3 separate regions of the Homo sapiens genome follow, and all the other regions are linked to region 3. Evidence: promoter capture Hi-C in 16 types of primary human blood cells and fetal thymus (Javierre and others, 2016). All regions are on one chromosome and are shown on one strand. The core of a region is centred on a gene start or on the middle of the fragment in contact, and the rest is flanking DNA. Distances in the headings are between cores, read along the strand shown.

What was found. The method cuts DNA at HindIII sites, captures the fragments that hold promoters and counts their contacts. A CHiCAGO score of 5 or more calls a contact.
Region 1: a contact is called between a fragment that was not itself captured here and the fragment with the promoter of CENPW in region 3, in 1 of 17 cell types (erythroblasts). The highest score is 6.1, in erythroblasts.
Region 2: a contact is called between a fragment that was not itself captured here and the fragment with the promoter of CENPW in region 3, in 1 of 17 cell types (erythroblasts). The highest score is 7.8, in erythroblasts.

Annotation. Positions count from the first base shown.
Region 1 is chr6:126,006,867-126,010,566 of GRCh38, reverse strand. It overlaps TRMT11 (tRNA methyltransferase 11), which reads right to left. Exons shown (of 13, transcript NM_001031712.3): 8 at 2,095-2,175. Among named protein-coding and RNA genes, the nearest start is that of TRMT11, 22 kb to the right of the region's middle. The HindIII fragment of the contact is 2,446 bases long and covers 1,203-3,648 here.
Region 2 is chr6:125,989,832-125,993,560 of GRCh38, reverse strand. All of the region lies in intron 1 of TRMT11 (tRNA methyltransferase 11), which reads right to left. Among named protein-coding and RNA genes, the nearest start is that of TRMT11, 5.2 kb to the right of the region's middle. The HindIII fragment of the contact is 1,548 bases long and covers 1,365-2,912 here.
Region 3 is chr6:126,338,174-126,341,983 of GRCh38, reverse strand. CENPW (centromere protein W) reads right to left here and starts at 1,869. Exons shown (of 3, transcript NM_001012507.4): 1 at 1,585-1,869. The coding sequence starts at 1,710. RefSeq lists enhancers at 1,650-1,699, 1,710-1,979. The HindIII fragment of the contact is 14,002 bases long and covers 1-3,810 here.

The DNA.
Region 1 (3,700 bases), core at 1,176-3,675, 330 kb after region 3:
ATACAGACTTTGGAGTTATCAGCATATAATCTTATACTGACTCCATAAGGCTGAATAACATTCTTTTTGTTCACTTAGGAGGCAGTTACATGTTTGCTCTATAATTATTCTTATAAAATCAAAAGAAGAACGACATGACTCTGAAAAACATGCAGTGTGACGGAGAAGTGCTCAAAGATAGGTAGACGCCTGGAAAAAAACAATATATAAACATAAATCAAAGAAAATTGCAGGGCATCAAGTAGACTGAGAAGAAACAAAAAAGTAAAAGTACCACCTGCCAAGACCACTGTCAAGGAAACCAAGAGCAGCTGTATGAAGGTCAACACTGTCAAATGCTATAAATCTGTGGCCTTTGTTAGCGTTTTCAACAGAATGATAGGCACAGAAGCTGGAAAATAATGGCCAGAAGAGAGTGAAAGATGAAGAAGAGGAGACAAGAAGTTATACTAGTTTTTCAAGAAGCATTTTGGCAAATGGAAAAGGAAAACAAAGTGGTAGCTAGAGAACCTCTACAGATTTGCCAAAAAAAAAAGTTTTGTACTTTTAAAACAGGAGAAACTTGAGAATATTTTAGGATAAAGTAAGAGTTCAGAACCACAGGAAACAGAGGGTATACCTAACAGTATCTTGGATAAGCTCTAAGGGAACTACCTCAATCAGAATTCTACCCCAGTAGACTGAAGGTTACAACATAAGTTTCCAAACATAACTTTAATAAATAAAAATTCAAGTAAATTATATAAGACAATTTCCTTAAAAGAAATATACTGCTTCTACTAAAAGCAAATTGGAATAATTCTTAGTACTTTTTAAAACAGATTTCAGATAAAGAATATCTTTTTCTTGCTAGCCCATTTATATACACCTAATAAATTATAACTCATTTTCCTAATAAATGTTACTAAATTCTTTACAGTCAAGGTAGGGAAAAAGACAGGTCACCAGTACAAGATATCAAATTACTTCCACAAAAGAAAATAAAGTATAATAAATGCTCACCAATACAATAACTTATACTGGGTGAGGAAAAGGAAAAGAGTATTATAAGGGCTGATCCCAGTTATTATAATGAATACCAACATAAACACAAATAATCTCAAAATCATCAATAAAATGACATTTTCAATACCATTAAGCTATAAGGAAATACTTTTTCAGTTTGATTCAATTCCATCCAATCACACATCATTATTGAAGCTTCTAGAGTTTAAAATATTTTCCATAATTACCTGAAAAGTAAAGCAGATGACTGTTTCAAGTACTCTCAGTTCAAGGCAGAATCTTTAAAGTTACTTTAAAGAGGTTTTGGTCAGTTATAAAATTAGAAACATAAATAGTACCTCAAAGACTAGTTATTAATCCAGTATATAGTCAATGTATGATTAGTGAATAATTTTGGTGATAATCTTTAAATGAGTGGTGATAATCTTAACCAAATATGTTTCATTATCATGTATATTTATTAATTAGTTATAATTAATAAATTATAGGTCTGAACTGGTCACTGGGTTATCACTTTCCTGCACTTCCTTAAAGCCCTCTGAGAGCAGGACTTTTTCTCATTCACCTTCATGTTCCCCCAGGAAATCACTCTGTACACAATGGATCATAAAAGTAGATACCCAATGAAGTCTTATAAAAACAAGTAAAATTATATCACAATTTTGTATTTGAAGATTAAAATAATGCCATATAAAACTACAGTTGACCCTTGAGCAACATGGGGTTGGGGTGCCCACTCCTCACACAGTCAAAAATATGCATATAACTTTTGACTCCCCCAGAACTTAACTACTAACAGCCTACTGTTATACTTACTTTATTCAGTAAAAATAGATTTACTATTCATGAAGTGGAAGTGGATCATCATAAAGGTCTTCATCCTCATCACCTTCATGTTGAGCAGGCTGAGGAGGAAGAGGAAGTGGAGGGATTGGCCTTGATGTTTCAAGAGGGCAGAGATGGAAATAAATCTGAGTATAAGTGGACCTGTGCAATTCAAACTTGTGTTCTTCCAGGGTCAACTGTATGTTTAAAGGTACATTTGGCACCACAGCAATGACTATAATACTGTCTATAATCTCTACTCACCCAAGCCATGAACTGTGTTGTAGTCTATGTCTGTCCCATACACATATGCACCAAAATGAGCACATGCTATCAGCAGGCCACCTGAAAAATCACACAATTTTGACCTGTTAACCAGTAAGTCCCAAACTCCTGTTTGTTCCTATTTAACTTCATCCAGTCTTAGAAACTAGCTGCAGGCAGAGTATCCTGGAATGACATTGGTCGTAACATATTTAGTAAGCCTCAGGACTGAAAAAACAAACCCCTAAGCTATAGTCACTAAACTGGTAACAAAGTAGAGAAATTAATGTATACCCTGGCATCATTATTTTAAACAGCACTATTTTATCTTTTTTTTGGTCAAAATAATGTATATTTAGACATTTTCATCTTATTTTTAGAGCTCTACACAAAAACATTTTGCTCCTTTCTTAAAAATGAGCATATAAGGCTGTTTATACAAAGAGCTGGCAATAAACAGAATAAATTCTGATGACTAGGCTCAATTCCCACTGAAGTCAGAGTTTCAAACAAATAGGGCATAATTACTATGTGAGACATTAGTTCTTACAGAAATTAAAAGGTTAGGACATATTTTAATTTTTGTAAGAATTAACTATTTTAATATAGTTACTCCTGTAACCAATCAAGTAATTATCTCCTGTTTTAAACTGTAAATACAAATTTCTGAGTAACTATTATCAAACATGCACAAAATAATTAATAAACTGTTTTTATTAGTGCTGTGACCAAAGTAAGAACAACTGTCCCAATACAATCTGACCAGACAAAGTAATGTGACAGATGTGACCAGCTCATGCATGAAGAGAAATCTTAATAAAGGTTAAAATAATAATGAAACTCTTTAAAATGAAAGGTAATACTATTTTTAAATTAAGAAAAAATTGTACACAATTAACTGAACTTTTAATAATTGTACTTTTAATTAAATTCACTTTTTTTAATCATTCAAATTAAAATGCTTTTAGTGCTTGGGCAAGTCTTAATTAGCTATACTCTAGGAAGGCCTGCTAGTCAAGCTGAAATCATAAATATATTCTTCAACTACAAAATATGCACAGACTTGGACAAGGGGAAAAAATACTGGGGCTCTTTCCCTTATAACCTTTTGAGATGTAATCTCTGTAACTAAGATGGGTAGTGCCTCTGGAGGGTCAAGATCCATAAATTAATGATGTTCCTTCCATAGCCATTTAAAACATAGTCTGGTAGCATGGAATTAAAAATACTTTGTTCATGAAAATATTATAACTGACTAGTTCTTTTTAGAACCCATGAAGAAGAGAAATGAAAGACTAAAAGTACAGCAGAAACCAAAACCTATGTCCTCTCATACTAACTACAAAAAGCATTTATGTGAGAGGGAAGGTTAAAAAGTCCTCATAATTCTGACTCTGGAAATGGAACATTCCATATTTAGAAAAAGCAGCATAAGTGATGACTTGGAATACTCACAAAGTCACTTCACCCAAATTACAAGGAATTACTACAATTCTGCCAATTAAGGCAGATACTCACCTAGAAGAACTAGTTGTCAAGGGGAACAGAAAAGCTTTCCTGTGCTTCCTTAACAGAACCTTATCCATTTGGTTAGAGTGAGTTTTGA
Region 2 (3,729 bases), core at 889-3,388, 350 kb after region 3:
CTGAGAAATTTTCGACAACAGAAGAGTTAGCAAACACTTGATCAAAAAATTCCCTGATTTTGGAAAGGAAAAAAACAGGTTACACAAAGTGCAGATTAGTAAGACTGACGATTGATGAATAAAGTTAAAATGAAAATCAGACACATGATTTGAAGATGTTTGGAAAAGAAAAAAATAATCAGCCAGGGCATACCACTATGTATTCATTAAGCACAAATAACTATCTCATCTTCTTTCTGTGTAAAGTTACAGAACTAGAAACAGAACTAACATAATAGATACTTTAAAAGCATCATTCATGCAAAGTTGAAATCTGTCCAGAGAGTGTTTATATTCTTTGAAGCAATCACTTTGTACTGATAAACCCAAATAATTATACAAATTTTATAATTTGTATGACTAACAAGTTATCTCCTTAAATCACATAAAACAGGTAGAATCACACTCTTCCATATAGGTCTCATGGAGGATGGAACCTAATGAGAGGTAAGTGTTCCACTGCTGGCTACCTACTATCCCCTTTCCTCCCAACCAGAAGGAAGAGCCTTTAACACCAAGCCCACCGCCATCAAAAGGGAAACTATACCCAGACCAGGAAGTCCCCCACTCCAAGACCAAGAAGAATGAGAAGTTCAAGCTACTAGTGCCATTTCTATTTTGTCTATGCAACAAATCATTTTTTAAAATTCAGTGTTAGAAGGGGCTGAATTCAGTCCAATCAGATGGATCGACCAAGAACTATCACAGACTACTGATAAATCAGTGAAGGCAGCCCAAAGGTTATTTTGCAGCAAGGAAAACACAAATCTGAATAGGAGACATCATGAGACTTAGAAATTAAATAGACCATAATCTGATTTTCAGCTCTTCCAAATACTAGCGATGTGGCTTTATACAAGAATCTTAAATCCTCCAACTTTTAGTTCCCTCAAATGTGAAACAGGAATCATAGCTACCTCATCAGGTTAGGTGAACTATAAAGAGAGAAGCATAGAACCTAGGTGGTTATTAAGGGAATCAAAATGATGAGGACCCTGATAACTGTCCTAGAAGTCCAGTGGCTCAAGAAGTCAACCAAGACTGATAGAGTTATAGCACTTAAAAGAAAAAAAATAAAGTTATAGATTAAATTACTTCATCTTGCATGATTGTTGTTTGTTCTATATTAAAGCATATTGTAAAGTCAGTTTTACATTTAAAACATCCAACTATAACCAAGTTAAAACACCAAAGTTTGCTGCTCCTGGAATATACTGTTAAAAAGCTGCAACAAGCTAAAACACAAAGATCCTAAGAGTTAGGTGGGGAAAAAAAGTGAAAGATTAAAGTTTTATGGCATAGCATTATCTCTACTACCCAAAGCTTAAGCAGCCACCTAAAACTGAGAATAAATATGATAACCCAAGTTTCAAATTGAAAAGCAAAACATGTTTAAACCACTTCATCAATCTACTTGGAAAAAGCAAAACACAAAATGTTCATTAATCTTATGGCAAATTCAACTTTCCAGTTGAGACTCTTTCTATATTAGGAATAAAAAATAATTTATATTGAACATTGGATATAAAAATGTAGCATGATCTGGGGCATGTGTGATGCGTTAATTCCATGAGCTTTTCTATTATTTCAGCTACTTGCTTTTTCATCCATTTAAAAGGTTGCTTCAGGACAAGCAATAAAACCCAGGAGTTTGAACTTTAGTAAACACTATTTAGTACAATAAGTACTACATTAAGTAGCTGCCAACTATACTTAGCCCTGATTAACTCTATCAGAGGTAAAACTGGACCACACTTATATTCCTGATCTCTCATTTTAATTCATAAAGGCAGCCATTCATTATAGCTTCCTTGCTTATCAGTTCTAATGCAGTAGCTGGGCCCAAAAGGATAGACTGTCCTTTGCATTGCCTTTCCCAGAAGAGATTCTATATCACTGATTTTAATATTTTAAGCAGCCAGGTATGGCGGCTCCACCTGCAATCCCAGCACTTTGGGAGGCCGAGGCAAAGAGATAACTTGAGACCGGGAGTCTGAGACCAACCCTGGCAACACAGTGAGAGCTCCCAAGACCCCCTCCCGCCCCCTCACACCAACACTCAGCCTCTGATTAACACCCGGCTCCACAAAAATAAAAATAAAAAAATTAGCCAGACATAGTGGTGCACCTGTAGTCCCAGCTACTCAGGAAGCTAAGGTGGGAGGATGGCTTAACTTGGGTCTTTGAGGCTGCAGTGAGCCACGGTCACGCCACTGCACTGTAGCCTGGAAAACAGAGAGAGAACAGTCTCCAAAAAAAATTTTTTTTTTTTTTTTGAGATGGAGTCTCACACTGTCACCCGGGCTGGAGTGCGATGGTGTGATCTCGGCTCACTGCAACCTCCACCTCCCAGGTTCATGCGATTCTCCTGCCTCAGCCTCTTGGGTAGCTGAGATTACAGGCGCACACCACCACATCTGGCTAATTTTTTGTATTTTTAGTAGAGATGGGGTTTCACTATGTTGGCCAGACTGGTCTCGAACTCCTGACCTTGTGATCCGCCCGCCTCAGCCTCCCAAAGTACTGGAATTACAGGAGTGAGCCACTGCGCCCGGACCCCCAAAAAAATTTTTAAGCAACTAATATGTGCAAGTCCCTGATCTATGTAAAAATACACACACATTTATCTTAGGGAAATTATGGTCTAGTAGAACCAACAAAACCACCTCACAACTGAAATGTAAAGTGTAAAAAACAGTACATGTTCTTAAACAGGTAAAAGCAAAAAAGTATTAGAGTACAAGAGAGTAAAAGATTACTTCAGTTTGAGAAGTAAAGTTTCATGGAAACTGCCTCAATCCCTGAAAAAAATCTAACCCAATGACAGGAATTCAACTTCCAGGTATGGCAAAAGAGGTAATTCAGATTAAGCTTCTTGCTGAAAAGAACTAGAAAAGCTGGCCATCTAATTGAAGGCATAGAAAGATAACAAAAATTACCAAACCAACATCCAGGAGAGGACAAAAATTCCAAGGTGGAGCCACTTTTTCCCTGAGACATTTACAAATCCAAAAACAGCTGCAAGAGTGAACAGCCCTTCTGAGTGCCCGATAGAAAGGGAAAAAAAGAGAAAGGGCCCCCCAGAGGAGAAAAGGATACTTGATGAACCACCTAATTTACACTAGGATGTCAAAAAGCTACACTCTGTGAGTACCTGGGAATCAGAACACAAACAGGGCTTAACACCTGAAAATGAGTTAAACCCAACCTAGATTCCTCATGCTCCTATGCGTTCCTATCTTCTTGAAGAGGATGTACATCATCCCAGCCCTCAAATTATTTTTTCAAATAAATTTTCAAATACAACATCTGGCATATATTTTAAAAATAGCCCACTATATGAAACAGAACAAAAAGAAACAATAGAAACAGACCCACAGGATCCCTTTTATCATATACTTTAACATAACTACGCTTTCTACATTGAAGGGGATTCAAGAAAAAAATAAGAATTTTGGCAGAGGAGGAAAAACTACAGAAAGGGAACTGTGGATCTGAAAAATAATCATGTAAAACATATAAAGCTAAAAGAAATAAACATGTGATTAACTCTAAATGAATACTTCCTATGTAAAAATCAATAAAGAATGGGAAAGACCCAAACCAGACTAAAGGGAGCACAGAGAGCAAAGGTGAAAGCAGGAATTCAGGGAATAATGAGTCAGTTTTGGCAGCACTAAGGACTAGGTG
Region 3 (3,810 bases), core at 620-3,119:
CAAAAGAACATTCTATACCCCATCAATGCAACCGCTTGAAATTTCAACTCACCCACTTTCCCATGCCACCTGGATCCCACCGCACTATGGAGCCCCTCTGTCCATGGGTTCTTTGGAGGAAGAAAGGGGTAGATGTGGGAGGATGCTGACTACCTGAGGAATTTCCACTAAGCCATTTGCACCAGCTAGTGGTCTCTTGGATATCTTTGATCAGGTACATTTCCTCTCCCTCCATTTAGAAGCCCCAGTGAAAGCTCCATAATATACTACGTAAAAATGTTTTGCAAGTGAATTTCATTTGAATTCCGTTCATTTGTGCCACCTCTATCACCAGCATGGGATAGTTAATTGGGGTCGGGGCACAAGACAGCCTGTATTGCCTCTTCTTACAAGATTTAAGAAAGTAACAAAAATAAGGGCAGAAGATAGAAGTAATACTTTTCTGGGGGAAAATGTGTTTTTGTTGTGTTTTGGCTTCAGAGACCAAATAAGGGGAAAGGGGCGATAATTCTATAGTAGTTTAGAAAAGGAAGCAACAGATGGGGTGGCAGTGGAGAAGTCCAGGAAGCAAAAGAGTAAAGAGGAGGTAGAAAAACCAATGTCGTTTAAGAACAGCTAGGATGATTCATGCAGTATGCTCTTATTATCCACAATTCTGTACCTTGATCTCCTGGAAATTATGTGTCCATTTATAATGGCTCCTTTACTCAAAGAGCCAAGGACAAGCTACCGAACATGCCTCCAGTGGTTTAAACCTAGAGAAATAGTGTTCATTGTGCCAGAGGAATATGTGTTCCAGGTATTCAACACACAAACTGAATTTATTTCAAGACAGAAACATTATTATACAGTGGTTTGATTGGGGCTTCTTATTAGGAGAACATTATGCTTCAGGTATTATGGGTCAGATAAGCAGGCTTTAGTAGTCTAGCTTAAAAACTGACTAGGTGTTCTATTACTTGTCTAGCGAAATGAATTAACAGTTGAGAGGACTCTTCCTACAAATAAACTTTCCCATCAGGGTCCTTTAGTAAGCACCCTCACCTAGAGGAAATAAGGCAATGTTTGGTTAAATGCGTAAATAGAGGAGAGACGGAGGGAGCCAAGGGAGGAAAGAGGAGACAGGGAGGGAGGCAAGAAGGGAGGCCCTTAAAAGGCATGTGAGCAATGCCTTTTACAATAGCTAAATAAAAATGACCCAGACTGAATTCCAAAATCTATTTTTTAAAGGGTGATTCTTTCATACCCTTTGCAAGTACATTAATCACGGTGCCAGATTGTGTTCCTAAACAGCAATATTTAAAACTGTAAGCAGTAACTGTACGTTAAGCTCATGTGACTAACAGTCTCCCTTTAAAAAGATCCAGATATTTACTTTTCGGCGCGGCCCGGTACAACTGAGCGCCAGGAATATGAACTGACATGCCAGGGTGGGGCATACGTTCCCTGTCATTGTTGGAACTGCCTTAAACAGGGGCCTGAAAGAGCTATAAATTGGCTCGGGGCGGAAAAACAAAGGCTTAAGGTTATTGCCCTTACCTCTCCCGTGCCCCATTCCCAGCCCGAGAAGGGATGGAATCTCACCAATAAGTCACCACTTTTCTCCAGACGAAGTTGAGGCTTCTTTCGCTTGAAGACTCGCTTTAGAAAGCCACGGGGAGCCTTCCGCTTTATCTGCTTCCTCTGGGAGACTATGGTCGACAGCGCCATCCTCTCTGTCAAGTACCAGCTGCCTCAGCTTCCGAGGTGCTCTCTGTATCGCACACAAGCTCCGGGGACACTGGGCCAGCGAAAACAATCCGGTCCGTATGACGCTTCTTCAGGCAGAAAAACCTCAGTCCGAACGTTCGAATCCGCCGCCAACGGAACGCGCCCGGCGCTCAGTAGTGACGTTAACCCTGAGCAAGCCCCGCCCCCGGAGACGCCTGCCTGTAGGTGGAAAACGCCCACGGTGGGCGGGTCCCGGGAATACCTGACGTCATTGAGAGCCTGCGTCCTCCTTTCATCACTTTCTGTATTATAACTTTTGCTCTGTGGAAGTGTTTCTGCTAGGTTCCCTAGAGATGATTGGAAGTTGTGGAGAGAGAGATTGGTAAGCCAAGGCAGTTCTTCAAGCACTCACTCTATACTGTCCCTAATACCAACGAACAGAAGTTTGTGATGTTTTATCAGGATTCCGACAGCACTAATGCCATGCCTTCCTAGCAAGGAATGCATGATTTTCAGATACTAACAGTTAAGAATTTTACACTTCTACGTAATTTCATTTGATCTTATCTTAGGTCTTTTCATGATTCTAGCTTTTCTTTACAAATGCTGCTCCCTTTAATTTTAAGGTTCCTCTCACTTAACCTTGCAATAACTTTCAGGTATAGTTTCATGCTAACTCACTGAACTTTTTGTTATTTCTTCAAGCTGTTAATTTCTCTATTATCTGTGCTATTATAGAAGTATTAATAGTTATCAAACCTTAATGTGCATCAAAATCACCTGGGGGACTTGTTAAACTACTGTTCGCAGGGCCCAGCTCCCAGTTTCTCATTCACTAGATCTAGGAGATACTCAAAATTTGCAATTCTAACAAGTCAGGGACATTGGCATTTGCTAGTCTGCAGACCAATCTTTGAGATCCGCTGTGATTTTAATTATAATTATCTCTAATACTATCTCTATTGAGATTTCAATATTATGTTATTGTGATCTCACGCACACAAGTGATCCTTCTACTATCTGGCCTCCCATTTCTGAGACCTCCTCTCTGCCAGTCATCTTCTACACCCTTGAGTTATTCATGCATGTGGTCATACCCTAGGCGGTGTCATTACTAAATACCTTTACCTTCGGTTTGATCTGCCACTTTCAATTTAGTTGTCTCTCTTCAACCGTATCTTCTATCTTTTGAATTTACTCCCTCCAACAATTCTTCGATGCTACTGGGACTACTGTCCTATCTTTTTCAGTTCCTCTCACCACACCCCCCAGCTCTGCCACCCCACTCTATGCCTTATCTTCCCTCCTGTAGTCCATTATGCATCGATCATCATAATACTGCCCTGTATTTCTCCACAACTTTATAGCCATTCTCTTTTATCCTCACACTAACCTGGCAATATTCCAACTCTGCTTAAGTTAAAATCTCAATCTATTCAACACTTGTATCTGTGTATTAATATTGGCATAAGAAAACAACACTCACAGGTATATGTCTGATCTCAATTCAAATTCATGACCACTCATGTGGGCTCTAAGTACTGCTACAATCCTTTGATATTTCCTAAAGCCATTCATTCATTTACTCATTCTCTTACATAGCTATGTCATGCCTTCTATTTCTTACCTACCCCATTCTCAATCTCCAGTGATGACATTGCTTCAACAACAAAATAAAATTTAAAAAAATCCATGGAGACTTTCTGTATGCTTTCACCACCCCATCTATCCATCAGTCTCCACCTGCTCCCATGGATGAGATGCCAACTACTCCACTTGTGCCCGAGATCAAGCCCTTTCCCCTTTCTTAAGGACATTTCTGTAGCAATTCTCCTTGCTCCTCTGCTTCATGAATTTTCCTTCTTTGCCAATTTTTTTCCATCAGCACCCACACAGCTTATAATATCTCCAGGCTTTTGAAAACCCTCTCTTAATCCTACCTTTTGCTGTTGTCCTTCTACAGAACAAAACAAAACTAGAAACCGTTGGCTAAATTCAGTGTCTCCAAATACTCTTCGCTTATTCTCTGTTAAATCCAGTACAATCAGACTTTTCTAGCTATCTCTTCACCAAAATTGTTTTGGCCAACGTGACCAATAG